Linked DNA regions of Homo sapiens: regions 2 and 3 are each linked to region 1. The links are contacts of gene promoters, found by promoter capture Hi-C in blood cells and fetal thymus (Javierre and others, 2016). All regions are on one chromosome and are shown on one strand. The core of a region is centred on a gene start or on the middle of the fragment in contact, and the rest is flanking DNA. Distances in the headings are between cores, read along the strand shown.

Region 1 (3,637 bases), core at 89-2,588:
TATAGGGTTGATTTGAATATTTTAGGAGGCAGGCCCATAAAGATACCAGGAAGGGTGCGGCACCTCTGGTAATCTTTGAACGAGGCATGCACTTACAGGTTCCCTGGAAACTCCACAGATGGCCTCCAGGAAACTGAAACTCCATTCTGTCAAAAGGCACAGAACCACAGAATTTTAGAGCTAGAAGGGCTCTGGTCACCTGGCTTAATCCCCTGTTCTACAGAAGAGGGGTAAGAGGCCTCAAGAGATACGACTCTCCAAGGCTGTGCAACCCATACGTGGAAAAGCTGGGACTAGTCTTGGGCAAAGCTGTCCCCACAGCAGAATGTGATGAAGAAAAAGATCTTAACTGGCTGACTCCAAGAGCCGTGGGTGGTTTTTAAAATTATCTTAAAAGCCACCAGGCATTCTGTTTCCTTGAGCAACCCAGGGCTACTTAATGAAAAGTCAGAAGGGTCAAGCAAAACTACTCCCATGCTACCCTCTGGCAACGACAAAGAGAGGGGTTCATGCTGTAATGAAAAGTCAGAAGGGTCAAGCAAAACTACTCCCATGCTACCCTCTGGCAACGACAAAGAGAGGGGTTCATGCTGTAATGAAAAGTCAGAAGGGTCAAGCAAAACTACTCCCATGTTACCCTCTGGCAACGACAAAGAGAGGGGTTCATGCTGTAATGAAAAGTCAGAAGGGTCAAGCAAAACTACTCCCATGCTACCCTCTGGCAACGACAAAGAGAGGGGTTCATGCTGTAATGAACACAGAAGAAAACCTTAGTATGCATCAGATGCTGGATCAGACTTTACTGGATTTAAACAACATGTAAAAACCTCCTTAGCTGCGACCACATTCTTTCATTTTGTTTTGTTTTTAAACACCTGCTTACCCCTTAAATGCAATTTATTTACTTTTACCACTGTCACAGAAACATCCAGTCCTAAACAGCATTCAACAGCCAGGTGACCTTGGGCAAGTCACTGAGTGAAAGGAACAGATACTTACCACCTGAAGTCATTGTGAGCATAACAGGCCCAATCTTTTTTTTAAAGAAGAAAACAATCCCCATTGGAATCCCTCTCAATCGGGTCCAGGGGATTGGGGAGCAGAAAACAACGGGGAGAGGAGGCGCTTGGGGGCTTCTGGGGACCCGGGCTCCACGAAGCCGTCTCCGCGACCCCTTCCCGCCCAGCTCCTCACTCACGCCTTCCCGGCAAATCTTCCAGCCTGCTGTGTCCCGCCGGTACTGGAGCATCTTCTCGGCCACAGCCTCGCTCATCTGGGCTGCCAGCGCCGGGTCCATTGCGTCGGGAGCTGCGCTTAGCTGCGGGGTCGCGGGTGTTATGAGCGGCGGCGCTGGATCCCGGGTGCCTGGAGGCTGGAGCTCTGGGAGGAGCTCGTAGCCCCGCCTCTTTCCGCGCCCCCGCTCCCGAATTGGTCCAGGCCCTCAGACGGATCCCGCCTCCCGGAGATTGGCAGGACAAGGAGACCGCGGGGCCAGGCTCTCCAGTTAGCGTCAGCGCCTGGGCGGGTCCCGGACGCCTTGGGCGGGCCGGGTAAGGTCCAGCCGTATCCGCCTCCTTCATGTCCCGCTGTGGGAGGGGCTCTGGAGCGCCGGGACTGTGAGATGGCCAATGACGGTCTGACCCGTTGGGCCGGGCCAGGTCGCGGACAACGTCGACCGTTTGTTTAAGAAGCGTGGACTCTTGTCCTGAGTGCACCGAGGCTTTCAGCCTGCGGGACAGTGGTGCGATTTGCATTAGAGGTAATATGCTAGGGCGGCTGCTGCAGGGTGGGAGAGGAAATGCGCGTGGAGACTGGGCGCGTGCAATGGTGGGAGAGGTGTGTGGCAGGGGTGCGGGGAGTGGGGGTGAAGAGAAGAGGACCCATCGTAGAGTGTTTAGGAGATGGAAGGTGAAGGTCTCTGCCCCCGATTGTGGATGTTCAGAAGGAGAAAGCATCATGACTCCCAGCCTTGGCCACCTGGCAGCTTACCTGAGATGGAGAAGAGATAGGGTGAGTTCAGTTCTGGGCATATTTAGTTGGAGGTGCCTGAAGGGCCTTTAGTGCAGGTGTCCAGGAGTCAATGCAATGCGCTGACATCTGCGAGAGGCCCGGCTTTATTAGAGATATGGGAGTTCTCTGCTTCCAGCTGCCCTGGAGCTGCGGGGAGTGAGCCAGGGTCGCATCTTCACAGCGTGAATGGCAAGGACAGCCTCGGTTTCCCCTCTTCTGCGCTATCACCAACTAAATATTTGAAAAGGTTAATACTGAGGTCTATTTCTTATCTTTCTTTTTTATGTACTTATTGTTTCCTTTAAACTTTCGATATAAATGTTTGGAAGAGTAGTGTAAACAAATTGACAACTTGAAAGACCTTTTTGGAAGATGTGAAGGGCAGCCAGGCTGTGAAGAAGACCTGGATGGGGAATTAGGGAGCTCAAGATCTAAACCCAGTTTCACTCATTATTCTTTGAGCTTCAGTTTACTCCAAGGTGAAATGGGATACATCATAAATGTTCCTGGCGGGGTCCGGTGGCTCACGCCTGTAATCCCAGCACTTTGGGAGGCTGAGGCAGGAGATCACTTGAACCTAGGAGTTCGAGACCAGCCTGAGCAGCATGGCGAGACTCCGTCTCTACTAAAAATTCAAAAATTAGCCGGGCATGGTGGCGCGGGGCTGTAATCCCAGCTACTTGGGGGGGCTGAGGTGGGAGGATCGCTTCAACCCGGGAGGCAGAGGCAGCAGTGAACCGTGATCGCGCCACTGCACTCCAGCCTGGGCTGCAGAGCAAGATCCTGTCTCAAAAAGTAATAAAAATAAACAAACAAACAAATAAATGTTCCCTATGCCCTTGTGAAGAGAGAGGGAAGTAACGCATGTAAATACTCTTAGGACCCATAAAAGAAAAGACTAGTAAATTAATCCCATTAAAAAATTAAGCACATCAAAATTTCATAAAAAGTTAGATAATATGAGAAAAAAATCGGGACACACTTTAACACATAAGTTTTCTTATCGAACCAAGGGCTCATACAAATCATTAAGCAATTTTCAGACAACCCCATAAACAAAAAGAATGCATTAGACATGGAAAGATACTTTGTGGAAAAATTAATTGACATGGCTAACAAAGCTATAAAAAGATGCAGAACCTCACTCATTGTTAGGGAATTAAAAATTAAAGCAAGGAGAGGCTTTTCTTAAAACCTATTGATGGACAAACATGAAGTTTGTTTATACCCTGTGTTGGTGAGGGTATGGAGAAATAGTTGTTACACAGCGGATGAGAGTACAAATGTATGCAACCTCCTGGGAACAGAATAACAACATATATTAAAATTTTACTCTACTTGTTCTTTGATCCAGTGACTCTTCCTGCACAAAGATGCATAAAATTAATCTTGCAACTGGAAGTAACCTATTTACCAGTATATTAACCAAAGTTATAGAACATCCACTTAGTGGAATATTATGTAGCCATCAAAATAACCTAGCCCAGATGGTGGAAAGTGGGGATGGAGTAGACCCCCTGCAGGACTATAGTAGCACTATTTTGCTCCTAGGAAATGGGAACGTCTGGATATACAAAATATTTGGAGAAGCAAACTGTCCCCGAGGCCTGTGACAAACTGGAAGTAG
Region 2 (3,809 bases), core at 188-2,687, 300 kb before region 1:
TAGTAATGAAAGAGCAGGGTCTGGGCTTATAGGCAAGGAGGAGCTGAGAGAAAGCTCTTAAGAGAAGGAGTTTAAAATGAGGGGCAGTTTTTTGGCATTGGAAGTAAATATTAATGCTAACAATAATCACCAGCTATGCTTGAGGTACCTCCAAACCCATTCCATACAATATTTCATTTGGTAAGTGTTTTTAACCCCATTTTAAAAATGGTGCCCTTGAAGCTCAAAGAGGAGACATGAACTGCTTTGTGGGTGTTGCCGCAGGGAAAGTCAGCTCATCGCCAGAATTGCAAAGAAAAGCAAAAAAAGTGAATTCTTTTTAAAAAAAATTTAGTTACTTTCTTTCTCTTTTTTCCTTTTTAAATTTATTTAAAATTTTTCCCTTTATTTTTATTTTTTGACTTTTTTATTATTTTATTTTTATACTATATTTTACGTGGTACGATCCCTACTGAAAAAAAAAGCAAATTCTCATTTTTTGAGTCTAAAGTCTGGGGTCAAAGTCTAATGAGGGGATTTTATGGGATTTCTTTGGAGGATAATTGTAATAACAAGCACTTTAATCTTAGATGCTGTGTTTAAAAAGGAATAGCCCTCCCTCCCCATCTTTCCCAAGACTCCAGTGCATTTTTCCCTCTGCCACAAACTTGCATCTGTTTCCCCTTACAGTTTTCTGTTTTCATTAGGATGCTTTAGGATGAACCAGATAAGGCCTTACCTCACATAACAGTTGATCAAAGCTGGTAGTTTGGAGCCTCAAGTGCATTTTGCCTGTGGAAAACGTACTAGAACTGCTGCTTAGAATCCTCAGGCAACCCGCACATCTTCGTGCACCAAAATGTGGCTCGGCTGTAGCACAGAAGCTCTTCTCCGTGTTGGCAGCAAAAGACGGTGGAAATGGAAATGGCCAGTTTGCAGAGAGAAACAGTGACTCTAGCCAGGCCCCTGAGTTGGGAAATGGGAGAATTTGTCTTCAGCATCATCTTCCTTGTAATTTCGTATCCTTTGCCCCAGGCTTTCCTAATAATAACTGACACCTACATGATACTTTCTATGTTCTAGGTGCATTTCCAAGCACTTAGAATTGTTCCTTTGTATCTGTGGGGGATTGATTCCAGGACCCCCTTGGATACTAACATCCCTGGATGCTCAACTCCCTGATGTAAAATGGTGTTGTATTTGCATATAATCTGTGCACATCCTCCTGTATACTTTATTATTATCATTTTGAGATGGAGTCTTATTCCATCACCCAAGCTGGAGTGTAGTGGCACGATCATGGCTCACTGTAGTCTCGACCTCTAGGGTCTCAGGTGATCCTCCCACTTCATCCTTCTGAGTAGCTGGAACTACAGGTGCAGGCTACCACATGGGGCTAATTTTTATATATTGCAGATTAATTTTGCAGATTGATAATTTACCACCAGCATGTGAATGACTCATACATATAGTCTTCATCTTCACAGATTAGCTTCTATTTTTTTTGTAGAGATGGGTTTCACCATGTTGCCCAGGCTGGTCTTGAACTTGTGGGCTCAAGCCTTCTGCCTGCCTTGGACTACAGAAGTGCTGGGATTATAGGCGTGAGCCACTGCACCCAGCCCTGTATACTTTAAATCATATCTAGATTACTTATAATACCTACTACAATGTAGATGTTATGTAAATAATTGTTATACCGTGTTGTTTAGGGAATAATGACAATATAAAAAAGTCTCTACTTGTTCAGTTCAGACATCAGACATCATTTTTTCTTTTCTTTTCTTTTCTTTCTTTCTTTCTTTTTTTTTTTTTTTTTTAAAGAGTCTCACTCTGTTGCCCAGGCTGGAGTGCAGTGGTGGATCTTGGCTCACTGCAACCTCTACCTCCTGGGTTCAAGGGATTCTCCTGCTTCAGCCTCCTGAGTAGCTAGGACTACAGGCATGCACCATCATGCCCAGCTAATTTTTGTATTTTTAATGGAGACGGGGTTTCACCATGTTGCCCAGGCTGGTCTTGAACTCCTGACCTCAAGCGATCCACCTGCCTTGGCCTCCAATAGTGCTGGGATTACAGGTATGAGCCACCACACCCAGCCCAGACATCATTTTTTCTTTCAAATATTTTCTGTCTGCAGTTCGTTGAACCCACAGATATGGAGCCCACAGATACAGAGGGCTGACTGTATACATTAACTCATTTAATCCTCATGATAACCCTAGGCGCGTTGGCTCACACCTGTAATCCCAGCACTCTGGGAGGCCAAGGCGGGTGGATTACCTGAGGTCAGGAGTTTGAGACCAGCCTGGCCAACATGGTGAAACCCCGTCTCTACTAAAAAATACAAAAAATTAGCCGGGTATGGTGGCAGGCACCTGTAATCTAAGGTACTTGGGAGGCTGAGGCAGGAGAATCGCCTGAACCCCAGAGGCGGAGGTTGCAGTGAGCCAAGATTGCGCCATTACACTCCAGCCTGGGCAACAAGAGCAAAACTCCATCTCAAAAAAAAAAAAAAGAACGTAAGGAAGCAAAAAATGTGAGGGAGTTTTTACGCATGGAGGGTTAATAAACTCAAGATGGCAGGGGTTCACAAAAGCCCATAGAACATACTGTCTATTTATTGGGCTCTTGCTATGTACTACACACTTTACATACATCCTCATTTCATACAGTACCTTGATGAAATATGCACATTTAAGAATCAGAGTCTAACAGACCTTAGGCAAGTTGTCCGAGGTCGTACAGCGGATGGGTGGCAGAGCCAGAATTTGGACCCAGGACTCTTTTGACTCCAGCATTTGCAATCTCAAATAGTGTTTCATCGGCCTTTTTATGGCTTGTGGATGACTATTGTTGTGAGGAGGATCAACGGTGCAGGGTCAGAAATGCAGTTTTGACTCCTATTGTTGGCAGTCAAATTACTGCTTGCTTCTGCTAATTTGCTTCCTGTCCTGCTTAGGCTGCAACCAGGGCAGAGTTTCGTTCGCTCCCTGGGCAGCTGTCCTGCCAGCATTACCTCATTCCATCTTGAACCCTCCCGCAGCCCAACAGGGAAGGGCTGAGAAGCACGTGGCCCAGGACAGAAGGCCAGGAACGAACTGCCTCACCAGGGACTCTAGCCTTGATTCTCTGAAAAAATGTGGTTTGCTCAGAGAAGCTTTTACCCAAGAGGAAGGAAAACTACGGCAATCGAGTTTCAGCTGACCTTAAAACCCCTGTGATCTTAGTCCCCGTCATTTAGTGAATTCTGCATATTACTCAGCTTCTCCATTGTGTAGCTGGAGGAAATATTCATGCTGTGTCATCTTTGGTAGTCAGTGGGCAGTTTTCTCCCTGCCGAGTTTACTTTTTTTGCATTTTGAAGTTCAAGATCAGGTTGGGTGTTTGAGTGATCTACGTCTGGGAGCCAGAGGAGGTTTTGTATTCAATGGTGACCAGCATGTGTTCCCAGCCTAAGCATGAATGAAAACAGTTCAGAACATTTTTTTCCTCTCCAGCTCCTTTCAAGGGGCACGTGCCCATAAGGCCAACCCTGAATGATTTGGGCAAGTAAGTATGGACAGCCAAACTCAGAGGAGAGAGGAATTGGATGAGGCTAATGTCAAGGTCTTATCGGGAAGGCTAAAGAAACCTGAGTTGGTCCTGGGAAGAATGAGCAAGATGGAGTGGGCTTGGGCTTTCTCTCCTGCTTGGGGTTGCAGGCAGAAGCCACAAGAGTGTGCTGACAATGAGGGAGGAGGGGACCATCTGGCTGGAGAATTGGCTCATTAGGGAGCACAGACTGGACGAAGTTGGAAGGGACGTGTGGCCTGATTTTTAAAAGGGCGGCC
Region 3 (3,826 bases), core at 902-3,401, 360 kb before region 1:
ACAGGGAGGGGAGCATCACACACCAGGGCCTATTGTGGGGTAGGGGACTGGGGGAAGGATAGCAATAGGAGAAATACCTAATGTAAATGATGAGTTGATGGGTGCAGCAAACCAACATGGAACGTGTATACCTATGTAACAAACCTGCACGTTGTGCACATGTACCCTAGAACTTAAAGTATAATAATAAAAAAAAAGAAAAGAAAAAACAAATTGGCTAAATTGAGGTATAGCCTCCTCCCCAAAATAAAGATTAAAAATGATTATTAAAATGTTGATAATTATTAGAACTGGGTGACAAGGAATGGTGACCCACTCTATTTTTTGTGTGTACATTTAAGATATTTCCATGATAAAGTTTTTGAAAGTTAGAAATAACCATTTTAGAAAATACTTAGCATAACCAATCAAGAACTTTAAAAGAATCATCATCATTTTTTTTTTTGGACCTACTAATTACATACATATCTGGGGATTTAGCCTAATGAAATAGAGCATGGGTATGAAGATGCTCATTGTAGCATTATTTATAATGACTTGACAGGTTCAAATAACCTAAATGTTCATCTACACAGAAATGACCAAATAAATTATGGCCTCATTTGATGAACTATTATACCTCATCAAAATAATATTTACAAAGGGTTTGTAATAACAAACTACTCATTTGCAGAGCCAGTGGCAGAGGCCCTTTGGTTTCTGAAAGTCACAGAGTATTACAGACAGAGAGACCTGAGAGCTCAACGGGCCCAGTGCTCCCCATATTAGAGGTGTGTTCACACACACATGTGCACACACACACAAACCAAGCTTCCACCCCTCCTGCTGTGCCACTGCCCCCAGCTTCCAGGCTGCCTCTGTGTCCACTCATGCCTGCTCAAATCTCAGCTTAGTGGCCACCTGCTCCAGGAAGCTTTTCTCTGGCCTCCCTTGGAAAATCCCTCTGTTGCAAGCTACAAGCACCTTGCATAGTTGCCACTGTACACTGTGGGTGTGTGTATTTGATTCAGGCCCTCTTCTTCCATACCCTGCTGCCTCTCTGCTCCACAACCTTTGCACCTCTTCTCTTCCTCCTGATTCTGCATCTCAAAAGCCCAAATAACTGGCTTGAAGTGGCCAACTCCTCCTTATTGGGCAGTTCCGCTGGTTAAATTCCTCTGGGAAATGCTGGCCCATTCCAACTGAGGCCCATCGAGGTGATGCGCTCAAGGCATTGATTTTAAAACTAGAAGTAGAAGCCCTTGGCCGGGCGCAGTGGCTCACTCCTGTAATCCTAGCACTTGGGAGGCTTAGGTGAGCAGATCACCTGAGGTCAGGAGTTCGAGACCAGCCTGACCAACATGAAGAAACCCCCGCCTCTACTAAAAATACAAAATTAGCTGGGCATGGTGGTGCATGCTTGTAATCCCAGCTACTTGGGAGGCTGAGGCAGGAGAATCACTTGAACCCGGGAGGTGGAGGTTGTGGTGAACCGAGATCACACCATTGCACTCCAGCCTGGGCAACAAGAGTGAAACTCCATCTCAAAAAAAGAAAAAGAAAAAAGAAAAGAAAAGAAGTAGGAGCCCTCAGGGAGTTTTAATTTAGAGCAAGGACCTCAGAGAATTTGTAAGGAAGCTTCTATCCTAAGGGAGTCAGGGACCTCCTTTGCATTAGAATAAGGATCCCTATTGTCTTGTTTCTTCCAGACCCTGGCATGTAAATCCCAGGCCTGGCAGGACTTGCCACCCTGTTTATAGAAGAGGTAAGGCCCAGGGAAAGCAAGTATGGCACTCAATGTCGTCCAACTTGGAGCTGAGGTAGGAGGCATGGATCAAAGGGGCCCCAGTGTTTCTAGGCCTATGGCTGAAGCTCTCTCCTGCAGGAAGAATGCGGGCTGGCCTGAAAAACAGATGCAAGGCAGACCAGATGTCCCTGGGCATTCTTCACATTCCACCAACTGCAGCCCTCCTTGGCTGAGAGCTGCCAAGTCTGGGCTTCCAATTCATCAGCTTGGAAACTTCACCTCAGAAACTTCGGCAGACTTCTCTGGAGAAAACAAAAATTGCCCTAGGTCTGCCAGGGAACAGTGGTCAAAGATTTAAAATTGCAAGTTGGGCTGCTGAGATCCAGAATTTGACAAGCCCAGGTTTAAGCTGATTCAACAAGATCTATGGAGAGTTGGCCAAGTGGCCCCAACTGCAGGCTCAGGTTTTCCCAGATGCTGGATCAAGTGGAAAGGGGTCCAACATCTCAAGTTTCTGGCTTGTGACACTTGCGTGGGACCTCCTGAAATCTGCCTACCAAAAATTTCCTTGTACCAGCAAGCAGCATGGTCAAACTGCAGTCTCCTGCAGACCGCTTGGACTCTGGCAGCTCTGCCCCTTTCAGGGCAAACCATCTCACCTGAGAGCAGGTCCTCAGCCATGCAGGTATCTGAGAGCAGAGCACCAAGGTGGTGGGAACGGCAGATGTTTCTGCCTGGAAGGAAGCTGACCCGCTCTGCTCTGGCATACCCTACACTGGGCAAGGTGGCCATTCTCCTTCTGGAGCAATCTCTGTGGCCCATGTAGAATTCCATCCCAGCCCCTCCCTTAGAGTGTCAAGCCACAGTGAAAACTGCAGTGCCTCCAGAAGAAAACAGCCCAGGCAGGATGTTATCCTGCCTTCTCCTAGCTGTGACTCTCAGCAAGGGGCTTAACCCCTACAAGCTTCTGTCTAGTCACCTGAAGCACAAAACACACACACAAATGATAATAGTTAACATGTACTGAAAGCTCTGTTGGCCAGGCACAGTGGCTCACACCTGTACTCCTTTGGAAGGCCAAGGTGGGAGGATCGCTTGAGCTCAGGAGTTTAAGACCAGCCAAGGTAAAATAGTGAGACCCCACCTCTTTACTTTAAAAATAAAATAAAAAAGAAAGCTGTGTTAAGTGCTTCACAGGGACTTGCTCATTTAATCCTTATAATACTTCTCTGAAATGGGAACTTTTATTAGCACCTACAGGCTTAGATGAGTGAGGTCCTTAAATAACTTGTCCAACATGATACAGCTAATAAAATGCAGAGCTGGGAAGTCCAACACCAGAACTGTGCTTCAAAGGGCCACATAGTAAATGTTAACTAATACCAACCTTGTGGGGTTGTGAAGGGTAAATGAGGTCGGGCACAGTGGTTCACACCTGTAATCCCAACACTTTGGGAGGTCAAGGTGGGAGGATTGCTTGAACCCAGGAGTTCAAGACCAGCCAGGGCAACATAGGGAGACCCTGTCTCTACAAAAAATATTAAAAAATTAGCTGGGTGTGATGGTGCACACCTGTGGTCCCAGCTACCCAGGAGATTGAGGTGGGAGGACCACTTGAGCCTGGAGGTCGAGGCTGCAGTGAGCTGCCATCGTGCCAGTGCACTCCAGCGTGAGCAACAGAGTGAGACCCTAACTGAAAATAAAATGAGAGTAAATGAAATAAAGTATGTAAAGACCTGCACACAGTGGGTAGCATGTCACAGTTAGGTAAGGATGTCCAGAGCTTGCACACAGTAGGCACACTCCATGCTGAAAGACATTGTGTGTCTTTTAATATTCAACCTGTAAATACCAAGAAGGCAGGGACCTTGCCTGCCTTGCTATCTTTATCTCCACTGCCTGCACACTTCCCGAAACTTATTGGTGTTCAGCACTTACATGGGGAGTGCTTGTATCAACACTTGGCACATGGGTCTGAGAAGAGGTCCAGAGAAGGGGAGCAGCCCCTCTCCCAAGCAGATTACAGTGGCTGGTGTCAGTTTTGGAGTCTGCCTGCCTGAGTTTAAATCCTGGGTTTGAGGCTGGGCATGGTGGCTCACG

What was found. Contacts are between HindIII fragments. The CHiCAGO score rates a contact against its expected background, and 5 or more counts as called.
Region 2: a fragment that was not itself captured here is called in contact with the fragment with the promoter of STARD5 in region 1 in 3 of 17 cell types (M2 macrophages, monocytes and M1 macrophages); the score reaches 7.3 in M2 macrophages.
Region 3: a contact is called between a fragment that was not itself captured here and the fragment with the promoter of STARD5 in region 1, in 1 of 17 cell types (neutrophils). The highest score is 5.6, in neutrophils.

Annotation. Positions count from the first base shown.
Region 1 is chr15:81,322,803-81,326,439 of GRCh38, forward strand. It overlaps STARD5 (StAR related lipid transfer domain containing 5), which reads right to left and starts at 1,339. Exons shown (of 6, transcript NM_181900.3): 1 at 1,199-1,339; 2 at 97-146. The coding sequence starts at 1,297. TMC3-AS1 (TMC3 antisense RNA 1) reads left to right here and starts at 1,531. Exons shown (of 7, transcript NR_120365.1): 1 at 1,531-1,759. RefSeq lists a silencer at 1,831-1,880. The HindIII fragment of the contact is 9,334 bases long and covers 1-3,637 here.
Region 2 is chr15:81,020,662-81,024,470 of GRCh38, forward strand. No RefSeq gene overlaps it. Among named protein-coding and RNA genes, the nearest start is that of TLNRD1, 22 kb to the left of the region's middle. RefSeq lists an enhancer at 2,689-2,838. The HindIII fragment of the contact is 3,393 bases long and covers 1-3,134 here.
Region 3 is chr15:80,965,768-80,969,593 of GRCh38, forward strand. It overlaps a transcript of MESD not described here. Among named protein-coding and RNA genes, the nearest start is that of MESD, 22 kb to the right of the region's middle. RefSeq lists an enhancer at 835-1,350. The HindIII fragment of the contact is 1,073 bases long and covers 1,616-2,688 here.